Linked DNA regions of Homo sapiens: regions 1 and 2 are each linked to region 3. Evidence: promoter capture Hi-C in 16 types of primary human blood cells and fetal thymus (Javierre and others, 2016). All regions are on one chromosome and are shown on one strand. Each heading gives the region's core, a stretch centred on a gene start or on the middle of the fragment in contact. The rest is flanking DNA. Distances are from core to core; before and after follow the strand shown.

Region 1 (3,971 bases), core at 647-3,146, 150 kb before region 3:
CTCGGCCTCCAAAAGTGCTGGGATTACAGGCATGAGCCATTGCGCCTAGCCAAATAAAAAATTTTTTAAAAAATTTAAAAAATAAAAAATAAAATAGGGATCACATCCCCTACTGATTAAAACTCTCCAACAGCTTCCCAACACTCCTAGAAGAAAGATGTTAGCACGATTCTTTGCCCCTTCCTCCTCTCTGTCCCAGCCACACGGCAGGGCCATCTACCACCATCAGTGCTTTCATACACTCCTGCCTTACCTGGGAGCCTCTTCACACCCCTTTCCCTGGCCTCGCCTGCCCATCCTTTGAATCTCAGTTCCAACAGCAGAGCCTCAGGGAAGCCTTGGTCAGTGCCCTCTTTATCACATTCTCATAGATCATGGTCCTTCACCTCTGGCTGCTGATCTCTCATCTCTGTCATATTTACATGTTAATTTACATGATTAGTTCATGTCTGCTTTTCCACTGTCTTTCCTCTTCCTCCCTCTCCCCATTTTTTTTTTTTTTTGAGACGGAGACTTGCTCTGTCGCCCAGGCTGGAGTGCAGTGGCGTGATCTCAGCTCACTGCAAGCTCTGTCTCCCGGGTTCACGCCATTCTCCTGCCTCAGCCTCCCAAGTAGCTGGGACTACAGGTGGCTCCCACCACGTCTGGCTAATTTTTTGTATTTTTGAGTGGAGATGGGGTTTCACCATGTTAGCCAGGATGGTCTCGATCTCCTGACCTCATGATCCGCCCGCCTCAGCCTCCCAAAGCCTCTCCCCACTTTAGGCTCCCTGAAGGCAGGCGCCATATTCCTCTTGCTTGCTTATACCTGGCTTTGCACATCTTTAAAGACATCTTGGCAGCTTAGGAGTGCTGGACCCCAGCTCCAGTAGGAGGTCATGGCTAGAGAGGCAGTTAGGCCTGAAGCTCTAGCTCTGAAGCTCTGGGTGGAGCTGCCTGGGCAGGGCCTCTGGAACTTGGCACTGGGCCTGGCTGCGGGAGGAAGGGGGTGACAGCCAAGACCTCTGGCAGCTTAACCCTGGAACTTTGCAAGCAGGCTTTGCACCTGATTGCTCCTGGGGCAATCCAGCGATGCCAGAAAATGGTGACAGAAATATCGGCTTTAACGCCTAACCCAGCTGCTCTCATGGTGGTGATGCCTCAGGATTTCCATCTCAACATCTTGTACAATGTGCCCAGCAATGAACTTGGAGCTGAGTGTCAGCAGAAACAGGCAGCAAAAATAAACTGGTGTGGAAGGGACCCACATTCACAGTAGACCACTGAAGCGCTGGATTTCCCGGCATCATGGGACTTCAAGGTATTATCGTGGAAGCAATTTGCTTTGATGGGAGGTAGCTGGGAGACTACCTCCCCAGAAATGGGAGGAAGGAAGAGAGGAACAACACAGAGGCACTTTGAGTAGAGCTGAGTAGAGTTGGGGAGATTTGGCGAAGCAGCCTCAGCTTTTCCAATAAACTGGGAATGTCCCAGGAATTATAAAGAATGCATCTATTCAGTGAACACCAGGTGCTGGGCTACCAAGGAGAAGGCAGGGATGCTTGTACTGACAGGGATGCCCAGCCTCATGAGGGGGGCAGAAAACTAAACAAACTACTTGGATCAATGTAACGAGGACTAGTATAAAAGTACATAGGAATCCAGTTTTCACTTTAGGATAAGATAACTATTATCAAGAAAACAGAAAACAACCAATTTTGGTGAGGATATAAAGAGACTAGAACCCTCCTAGATCACTGATGGGATTGTAAAATGGTGCAGCCACTGTGGAAAGTGAATGGGATCCTCACATGAGAATGGGTTCCTCCAAAAATTAAACATAGGCTGGGCACAGTGGCTCATGCCTCGAATCCCAGAACTTTGGGAGGCCGAGGCAGGCAGATCACCTGAGGTCAGGAGTTCAAGACCAGCCTGGGTAACATGGTGAAACCCTGTCTCTACTAAAAATACAAAAATTAGCTGGGCCTGGTGGCGCACACCTGTGATCCCAGCTACTCAGGAGGCTGAGGCAGGAGAATCACTTGAACCCAGGCGGCAGAAGTTGCAGTGAACCGAGATAGCACCAGTGCACTCCAGCCTGGGAAACAGAGCGAGAGTCCGCCTCAAAAAAAAAAAAATTAAACATAGAATTACCATATGATCCAGCAATTCTACTTCTGGGTATATACACTCATACCAAAAGGAATCAAAAGCTCGGATTCAAATGGATATTTTTATACCCATGGTTATAGCAGCATCATTCACAATAGCCAAGAGGTGGAAGCAAACCTAGTGTCCACCCACAGGTGAATGGATACATAAAATGTGGTAAATACACGCAATGGAGCGTTATTTAGCCTTAAAAGGTAGAACATTCTGACACATGCTACAACACGGATGAACCTTGAGGACTCTATGCTAAGAAAAAGAAGCCAGTTACCAAAGGACAAGTATAGTATGATTTCAATTACATGAGGTAGGTAGAGTAGTCAAACTCACAGAGACAGAAAGCAGAATGGTGGTTGCAGGGGCTTATGGGAAGGCAGTCTGGGGGGTTAGTATGTAATGTGCACAGAGCTTCATTTCAGGACAATAAAAATGTTCTGGAGGTGGATGGTGGCGATAGTGGCACAATGCGAATGCACTTAATGCCACTGAACTGTACACTTAAAAATGGTTAAGGCAGCAAATTGTTAGTCACATACATTTTCTACAATGAAAATAAATAATTTTTAATTAAAAACTTAATTAAAGGCCAGGCACAGTGGCTCATGCCTTAATCTCAGCACTTTAGGAGGCCGAGGCAGGTGACTCAACTGAAGTCGGGTGTTTGAGACCAGCCTGACCCATATGGTGAAATCCTATCTCTACTAAAAATACAAAAATTAGCCAGGTGTGGTGGCGTGTGCCTGTAATCCCAGCTACTTGGGAGGCTGAGGCAGGAGAATCTCTTGAACCCAAGAGGCGGAGGTTGCAGTGAGCCAAGATCGTGCTACTGCACTCCAGCCTGGCCTGGGCAGTAGAGTGAGACTCCGTCTCAAAAAAAAAAATTAATTAAATGGGAATAAGAAAGAAACTAACTTGATTATCTGAGGATTTGGGAAACAACTGACACAAGGGTGGGGAAGAGGAAAGGGAGAAGAGTTGGTATTTGTATTTAATGCCCATGAGACGACAAGACCAGGTTCTAATTGCAGCTCTGTTACCTACTTGCTGGCTGAACCTAGGCAACTCTCTTAACGGCTTTCAACTCTGGAAGAGGAACAGGGCTGCAGGGAGGACAAGGAGATGCTGGATGTAGATCGATGTCCATTGTACATAAAGTGCAACACAAATGCATGGAAATACTATTATTATCTGCTGAAAGGGGGCAAGGTTACCAACCTGCGGAGAAGGAAGGTGATGAGCAGCAAGGAGGTGGTAATGGGAGGATGCTTTTGAGATGTGGACAGGAGTCATGAAGGTTTAGGTCAGCCCAGTAGGGAATAAGATAGGAAAACCAGAAAAGAGGGCTAGAGTTTCCTGAGCTGGAGGGAGGGTCCTCGAGCATGGATTACAGAGGTCCAGGCAGCGCACTTTGGGGAATTCTTATAAGACCCTGTGGGTAGCCTAACAGAGGAGGAATGAAGAGCTCTGAAAATTGTCAGGGGTCACTAAGATAAGAGCGAATACATTTCTGAAAATACTGACCCTAAGTCCCACACTGAGAAAAAGGAGGAGTAAATGAAGATTGATTGGGGAGCATTGATCAGGGTCAACATTTTTCCAGATTCTGGCACTATATCCCTGGCAGTATGGGAAGGGATTTCAGTTGGCAGACAGGCTCACATTAAAAGGCATAGCCATTTCAATTTTCATTCAATCTTTCCTATGACTTCCAGGACAAAGCCACTGGTTGGTGCTATTATGTTTTATGTACCTCTCTAAACTTTGTGAGTCTTGGGTCTTTATTTGAGAAAGAGAGCAATTTCAGTAGGCAACAATGTCTAGTT
Region 2 (4,005 bases), core at 1,093-3,592, 210 kb before region 3:
CCTTTCTTGATGGAAATACATTCAATCTGGTGGCTGTGGGGGCTTGTCTACCTGAGAGCTGTGCCTTCTCCTTCAGCTGAGTTCACATATCTGTACTGTGATGCACTGTGCCTAATTCCCCAAAAGGCAATCTTGCTTCCTTCATTTCCAAATCTGGGAAGGCAAATGTCTACTGTGCCCAGAGAAGGAAAGGTAGCTGCATCCTTTTCTGTGAATACCCTTCTATACGTGAATATTAGATATTTTAAGGAAAGAAGCAGTTTTAATTAAGATGTATATAAACATTATATGCAGAGAACCCAAAAAAGAAGAAATGGATATAAGTTTCCAAGTGCTTAATGAGGGCTTGGTGCCGTGCTAGGGGCATTTAATAAGCACAGCAATTCAAGGAAATAGTTATTAGTGCCACCATTTTACAGTTAGGAGAACTGAAACTCAGAAAGATTAAGTGACTGCTAGTTTCAGGAGAACTGGAATTTCAACACTGGCCTGTCTGACTCTGAGACTCTGCTAGGAACCCGTGCACCAAGAAAAGTGCTCATATCTGTGAAGATGCATTGTGAGCTGCCAATGAGGTATGGTAACTGTCTAAAACTGAAAGGAAAGCTGAGGAGCCATATTTTATAATCAGCAGACTGCTTTTTCAGCTAAAACATGAGTAACCTTCTAGAATGTTTTGCAAAGGCTTTGATACCTGCACTGGTTGCATTTCCATAATGATACCACTTAAATCCAACTGGACTATCTTCCTGCCACAAACCAACATAGGAACTCCTTCACTCATTCCATTCCAATTCCTAGGGTGGTGAGGTCAAAGGCAGCCAAGCTCCTTCAAACATAAAGTAAAATAAGAAGTTCTCATCAGAAGCCCATGGCTGTGGTTACAGATGTGCAGAGCTCACCAACACTTTAAAGAAATGTAAGTTGCTCATTTACAATAACAAAGACTTGGAACCAACCCAAATGCCCATCAGTGATAGACTGGATAAAGAAAATGTGTCACATATACACCGTGGAATACTATGCAGCCATGAAAAAGAATGAGTTCATGTCCTTCGTAGGGACATGGATGAAGCTGGAAACCATCATTCTCAGCAAAGTAACACAGAACAGAAAACCAAACACCACATGTTCTCACTAAGAAGTGGGAGTTGAACAATGAGAACACATGGACACAGAGAGGGGAACATCACACACCAGGGCCTGTCAGGGGGTGGGGGACAAGAGGAGAGGGAGCATTAGGACAAATACCTAATCCATGCAGGGCTTAAAGCCTAGATGACGGGTTGATAGGTGCAGCAAACCACCATGGCGTATGTATGCCTATGTAACAAACCTGCACATTCTTCACATGTATCCCAGAACTTAAAATAAAACTTTAAAAAAAAAAGACAAAAAAAGGAATATAAGTTGCTCAAAGGGATGGGGAAAAGCTTGCTGTAGCCATGATCTGGATGCAGTCTATTGGGAATTCTTCAATACCTCCCATCATTCAGATAGGCCCTCGAGATCACTGTCCTGGCGGCTCCTACTTAGCAACCCCCAAATATCCTCTCCTTGGCTTCCTGGCCCTTGTCATTGTAAGCTGTGAGAAAAGAAAGACAAAAAGAAGACCTTGAATGGCTCTCGCTCCTGGAGATAACAAGACCTGAAATATGGGGCAGAAGGAGCATGAGGAGATTATGGATTGTCATCCCGGTGGAATGCTAGTTTCAGATTTCTAGCACCAGGTCACTTCTGCAGCTGAGACATAGCATGACCAAGACAGCATGGGTCCTCACTCAAGAGCATTCTTGGTATATTCAGTTAATGGTTCCAGGCTGGAAGGAAAGGAAAAGGAAAGTAAGGAAAGCAAAAAAAAAAAAAAAGAAAGGCATTTATAATGTTTTTTTAAAAGCATATTTGATTTCATCTAGTTCCCCAAACATTTCATCTAGTTCCGCATCATTATCTGCATTTTATGGAGGAGGAAGCTGAAGTACAGAGAAGTTAAACACACACACTCAAGTCATAGACTTGGTAGGATCGAACTCAGGCCTAAAGGAGTGGAAAGTCCATGCTATTTTTCATTAAAGCATGGGTTCAGAAGATCACTAGTTGAGCATCAAAGTTTCCTAAGCCAAAATGAGTATTTTTAAAGAATGCTCTACATTGGTATTTGTTGTTTTCTCCCCATATGGAGTAGGTAGAATAATGCTCCCTACCCACCAAAATGTCCATGCCCTCATCCCTGGGCCCTGTGAATTGTTAGGTTATATGAAAAAGGGGAATTGAGGTTGCTGTATTAGTCCATTTTCATGCTGCTGATAAAGACACATCTGAGAATGGGAAGAAAAAGAGATTTAATGGACTCACAGTTGCACATGGCTGGGGAAGCATCACAATCATGGCAGAAGGCAAGGAGGAGCAAGTCACCTCTTACATGGATGGCAGCAGGCAAAGAGAGAGCTTGTTCAGGGAAAATCCCCCTTGTAAAACCATCAGATCTCATGAGACTTATTCACTATCGTGAGAACACATGGAAAAGATCTGACCCCATGATTCAATTACCTCCCACCAGGTCCCCTCCACCACACATGGGAATTCAAGATGAGATGTGGGTGGGAACATGACCAAACAATAACCTTGAGATGAGAAAATCATCCTGATTTATCCAAGTGGGCTCAGTGTATTCACATGGGGCAGGGGAGTAAAAAGAGTGAGCTGGAGAAAGCTGTGACACTGGAAGTAGAGTCAGAAAGATGCCACATAATTCACTTTGAAGGTGGAAGAAGGGGCCACAAGGCAAGGAATGTGGGCAGCCTCCAGAAGCTGTAAATGCACAAGGAAATGGATTCTTCCTGAGAGCCACCAAAGGAATTGGCCCTGATGATGACTTCATTTCATCCCAGTGAGACCAATGTTGAACTTCCAAACTGAAGAATGGCAAGATAATAAATTGACATTGTTTTATGCCACCCATGTGTGGAAGCCACATTATTATACAACAAGGTCCCAGCTTTCATAGTGGTAGGCCACGAATCTAAGAAGAAGACACGGTTTGAGTCCCAGCCTGACCATGCCTGGCTGACGCAGCATGATCCATCCATTTCACTCATGCTGGGAAGATCTTGCCAGGAAAACTTGAAATAATTGAGGCTGTCACCTAAAACCCCATCTTAGTTAGAAATGGTTTGGTTGTGTGGAACATAGCTCTACTCATCAAGGCTCACGTGAAAAATGAAAGCTATTTAGAAGCAGAGCGAAGCTTCGTGGAACCAGAAATTTAGTAGATGGCATTCTCGCTCTCTTCCTTCTTTTCTCTCTCACTCTCTCTCCTCTCCTACTCTTATCTCTTCTTTTCTATAAATATCTTATTTATTGTTCTCTTCTTGCAGACATGACTTTGCTTACATCTCTGTGTGTACAAGGCTTCAACAAGGCCATCCCAAGATGATGGCTTCTGTTCCATGATGTCCCAACATTCCAGCCTTGTTCCCCCCACAACCAACTGTGTCAGTCTTCCCATCCCTGATGGAAAGGTCTGAACACATTGAAACTGATAAGCTCAGCTCTAGTCTGATGTTCACTCTTAACTCTATCAGTTATGGTCAGGATGGAGGAGCCAGGAGCTGGGGCTTTTGCTATAAAAATCTGTCTCATTGGGTGCTGTGGCTTAGGCAGGCCCTTTAAGATGGTGTCAGAGAGCAGAGAGGAAATTACTGGCATCATCAGAACATCTCTGCATCCTAGGGCTGGCCTCAGAAACAGAAAGCCATCACTTCTGCTGGCTGAACTGCCCTCCTCCCTCCTTTCTGCACAGGCCAAGTCAAGCCTGTTTGCCTCTGTGACTGCTTTTCCTGTCCCTTAATTCTCTGATTGACATACTTTTTTTTAATATGTAAATATATTCAACCAAGTTACATTTAAATGGTGCTGGTCTGAGAACTATTCTACATATTTCTGGTGACTTTGCATGTTTCACTTTAACTCCCAAAGGAAGAGAATGATTGTCCAGTTGTTGAG
Region 3 (4,408 bases), core at 808-3,307:
CTGATGAAGAGAAGGAAGGAAACAAGGACAGTGTGGAAAGCCAGGCGAGAAGCCATCAGCATTTTAGAGCTTGTATTAGGTCCTAACGTGATATGGGTGCTCTCTTAAGGGAACTAAAAGAAATGTTGAAGGGAATATTTCTTTTCTGTCTCCTGGAGGTGAGTATGGATGTAGTTATATAGATAGATGAGTACATTGGTCACTGCAAAAGGGAAAAAGCAAAATTGCCCCCTATTTCATTTCCACACAGTTCCTCCTGTCAACAGGTCTGGGTGTTGACGTAGGAACTGCAAGTTCCCACGTCCACCCCCGCCACACCCACAGCCTGCCCTGCATACACCACTGCTGGAGATGTAGCCAGGACAGCTTGCCCTGTCCCCTGACCCCACGGACCTTGTTAACACCGCTGCTCCCCTCGGTGATATTTACCTGTCCGTGGCTGTCCTGACCAATACTCCCAAGGAGACAGTGCATCACTGGGCCAACAGGGCAGAGCCCCAGGGGACCACTCCCTTTACGACATGGACGGACACTTTAGGAGTGACGGTTACCCTCTCCTTGGATGAGGAGGGGCTCCAAGGATGGACATGTCAGTCTCACCTGGAGGGAGAGGGGCAGTGGGTGGGGGCAACGCTCAGTGGCTGGTGGACAGGCAAGGGGTGAGTGAGCCCTGCCCAACTGACTCCATTGGCGGCCACTGGCCTTGCCTGGCATTCACGGAACAGGCGCTTCATAAACTTGTTGCTTCAATGTGAAATCACCTCAATTTTGTAAATGCGTCTGTAGCATCCACAGGACTCATCATCTAGAATTCAAACCCTTAAGGGTAAAGGCTGCGTCTTCTGTTTCCTCTGCGTCTTCTCGAAGCACTGTGTGTAAGGGCCAGAGCACAGAGGATGTTTCATACACGTGCCTTTGCCCTGAGACCGCAGCCCTGCCTCCCCGGTCCCACGCAGACCTCATGGAGTGGCCTCCACTTCGGGGCTTGGTACTGCTGTGTACGGAAGGGGCGGTTTCTATGGGAAACATGGACAAACAGTTCTATTTGGAATAAGCAACCACAGGGTGCCCACCCAGCCATCCTCCCAAAGATTTGTCAAGAAAAAAAAAGTAGAACGAGAATGGGCAAAAGCGTCCGACATACTTTACTCTTCTCTTGAGGCTTTATTTTTCCACTCCTGATTTAGAGATGACCACATTTGTTAGACAGCCCCCCCTTGTCCGCCCTTTCTCTGCAGGCCACCACCGTTCCCCCTACCCCATCCCAGCCAGCAGCTGGTCTTTCCTAATTGGTAATCTGTCTTAATAGCCACAGGTCCTCAGGCAGCTGTCGCCGGGAATACGAGCTGGCAGCATAGATCCACGTCACTAACTTAACTGGCTGGTCCTATTAGAGCTTAAGAAAGAATTAAGTTAATAATGATACTAATGAGACAGAACGTTGCATAGGAGAAAATAAGAGAAAGAAGGAGAGGAGTAGAAGGAGGAGAAGGGAGAAGAGGGCAAGGGGGGAGGGGAATTATTGCTATTAATTATTATTATTATTAATTATTCCTGGCACAGGTTTTGCAATCACAACCCAAGGTTGTGATAAAATCTTGCTCAAAATTCAAAAAGGATTTCAACTTTTCACTCTCAGTCTTATTCACTTTTCCATATGATGAGATTTCTAAGTAAGCCACCCGACTTCAGTCCTTGGTGCCCAATAGCTAGGGGCTCACGCCGCGTTCAGGGTGTGATGAGCGCCTGAGAACGGAGGTGGCTGCCCCCGCAACTCCTCCTGGAGTGAGGCCATCCCATCCCATCAGGGGAGGGAGCACCGGCCCCAAGTTCAGAGAAAGGCATCCCAAGCTCCTGACATTCTGCGGTCGGAAAATGGTGATGGATCCTGCTCATTTCTAATTATACCTTTCCCTTGGCAACGACAAAGATACGTGTGGAAGAAGCTGGTTCTCGGCTTGGGGGGGCCACTCATCCTCTTGCCAAATATAGAGAAGGAATGAGCCGCGGGGGTTACCAATGGCCTATAAAAGCCCCGGGGAGCAGCCAGCCCTCTGTGGCTCGCTTGTGGGCGGAGGTAAGTCACAGGCTCCTCTTCTAGGTCTCAGCTGCTTGGAGCACACCCACCCGGTGAGCACATCCACACCCCGTGCGTGGTTCCCTGGCCCTGCCTGGCTCTGCTGAGGTGGCGCCTCATGCCTTTCTGAGTTTTCTTAGGATAAGCAAGGTGTAGAGAGCGAGGTTCCCTGGGCCCAAACACCCAGCACCCTCTGGCTCCAGCACCTCCCCCAAGCAGGAGCCCTGCAGGTTCTCTCTCCTCCACACACTCTCCCCTGTCCTCCTCTCCAAGTGTCCTCTTGGGCAGGATCCTTTTGGATGCCCCGTGAGCCCAGCTGCCATGGCTTGACCTTCTCCCATTGCCTCTGTGACCCATGAAGGGTCAACAGGACTGGGGACCTCACTCTGCCCTCACCTTCCCCACCTGGGCTGTACATCTGCCAGGTGTCTTGTCCTCTCAAGACCACACTGGCTGTGGGCATTGCGTGTAAATTAATCTCAGAGATATTGCCTGTTCACAGACAAGGAGACCTGCCCCTGCCCTCGAACTGTTGACTTTAAGCAGGGATGCGGTCCCTGCTGTCCGATTCTAAATGGGAGTGAGGAAGACTGAAGAAGGTGCCAGTGCAGGCTGAGAGAAACCAGATTTCTGCACAGCTGAGGGTTTTTCCTCCCTGCCTGGCTTCCTGTGGGTCACGTCCCATCTGCTCTTCCATCTTCCAGCCTGCCTCTTTAAAGTATTAGTCTTTTTTTTTTTTTTTTTTTTTTTTGAGACAGAATTTTGCTCTTGTCGCCCAGGCTGGAGTGCAATGGCACAATCTCGGCTCACTGCAACCTCTGTCTCCCAGGTTCAAATGATTCTCCTGCCTAAGCCTCCAGAGTAGCTGGGATCACAGGCATCTGCCGCCACGCCCAGCAATTTTTTAAATTTATTTTTTATTTTTAGTAGAGAAGGGGTTTCACTATGTTGGCCAGACTGGTCTCAAACTCCTGACCTCAGGCCATCTTTCCGCCTCGGCTTCCCAAAGTGCTGGGATTACAGGCGTGAGCCATGGCGCCTGGCCCCTTTATCCTTTTTAGTTAACTCGTCAGAAGCCGATTCTACATGGACGCAGCCACCCCAAGTGCCGCTAAGTTGTGTATGTGCATATTCTTCCAGGTCTGGGATCTCCTGGCTGTTGCTGTCTTCTGCTCTCATCCTGCAGGTGGGACTCTCAGGTGAGAAGTTGGGCCCTGTCCCTCGGCTGTTGGAGATCTCCAGGCAATCCAAGCTTGCCAGTTCCTTTCTCCCTCCTCCCACCGGCCATAAGGGCACAGAGGGACAGGGGAACTAGCACATTTAGACAAGGACAGGTCGTGGCCGGGTGCAATGGCTCACACCTGTAATCCCAGCACTTTGAGAGGCCGAGGTGGGCAGATCATGAGGTCAGGAGTTCAAGACCAGCCTGACCAACATGGTGAAACCCCGTCTCTACTAAAAATAGAAAAATTAGCAGGACGTGGTGGCAAGTGCCTGTAATCCCAGCTACTCAAGAGACTGAGGCAGGAGTATCGCTTGAACCTGGGAGGCAGAAGTTGCAGTTAGTGGAGATCGTGCCACTGCACTCCAGTCTGTGACAGAGTGAGACTCCATCTCAAAAAAAAAAGGCAAGGACAGGTCAGGCGGGAGAGGAGGTGGCATTTGGGGGACTGTCAAACAGATGCTGATGTCAGATGCTTGATTTTGTTCTTAGCAACCCAAGGAAGCAAAAGGCAGGTTCCCGCATACGAGCGTGTAGCCACCTTGATTGAAATGGTTCAAAAATATCTTTGCTGTTTGCCATTAGCACACTCTCTTTGAAGATGGCGTTTATTTTTTAAGGGTGTTTATTTTTAAACGTTCCCTCAGCAACACCTGGTTGTCACAGAAGCGGAAAAGGCGGTCCCAAGAGTGGTGCTCACTTCCAAACCCCTTATCGCCAGTTCAAGCCTCAGATGCTTGAGGAGCTTGGGTTAAATAGGCTGTAAGACTGTCGCACAAGAAGCCCCTCAATAAATATGCACCCGTGTGATTTCCCAGCACTGAAGCCCTTTGGGTGGAGCTTCTCAAGGCATGAGGACAGCCTGGTTCCTGGGGCCCTGACTCTGAGGGCTCCTGCGGCTGAAGGAGGGCAGGGTGGAGGCTGAAACAGGCCTGGAGCTGCTGGGTGCCTGGCAAGGGGGCTGCTGAGCTCACCGGGTGGGTTTGCCTTCCAGCTGACACCATGAGTAGTGACACTGAAATGGAAGTGTTCGGCATAGCTGCTCCTTTCCTCCGGAAGTCAGAAAAGGAGAGGATCGAGGCTCAGAACCAGCCCTTTGATGCCAAGAC

What was found. The method cuts DNA at HindIII sites, captures the fragments that hold promoters and counts their contacts. A CHiCAGO score of 5 or more calls a contact.
Region 1: a fragment that was not itself captured here is called in contact with the fragment with the promoter of MYH3 in region 3 in 5 of 17 cell types (naive CD8 T cells, naive CD4 T cells, non-activated CD4 T cells and 2 more); the score reaches 7.3 in naive CD8 T cells.
Region 2: a contact is called between a fragment that was not itself captured here and the fragment with the promoter of MYH3 in region 3, in 6 of 17 cell types (naive CD4 T cells, total CD4 T cells, naive CD8 T cells and 3 more). The highest score is 9.0, in naive CD4 T cells.

What each region holds. Positions count from the first base shown.
Region 1 is chr17:10,809,861-10,813,831 of GRCh38, reverse strand. All of the region lies in intron 3 of TMEM220-AS1 (TMEM220 antisense RNA 1), which reads right to left. Among named protein-coding and RNA genes, the nearest start is that of TMEM238L, 7.7 kb to the right of the region's middle. The HindIII fragment of the contact is 6,764 bases long and covers 1-3,971 here.
Region 2 is chr17:10,865,965-10,869,969 of GRCh38, reverse strand. No RefSeq gene overlaps it. Among named protein-coding and RNA genes, the nearest start is that of PIRT, 30 kb to the right of the region's middle. The HindIII fragment of the contact is 1,814 bases long and covers 1,436-3,249 here.
Region 3 is chr17:10,654,958-10,659,365 of GRCh38, reverse strand. It overlaps MYH3 (myosin heavy chain 3), which reads left to right and starts at 2,057. Exons shown (of 41, transcript NM_002470.4): 1 at 2,057-2,077; 2 at 3,218-3,276; 3 at 4,294-4,408. The coding sequence starts at 4,302. The HindIII fragment of the contact is 3,770 bases long and covers 1-3,331 here.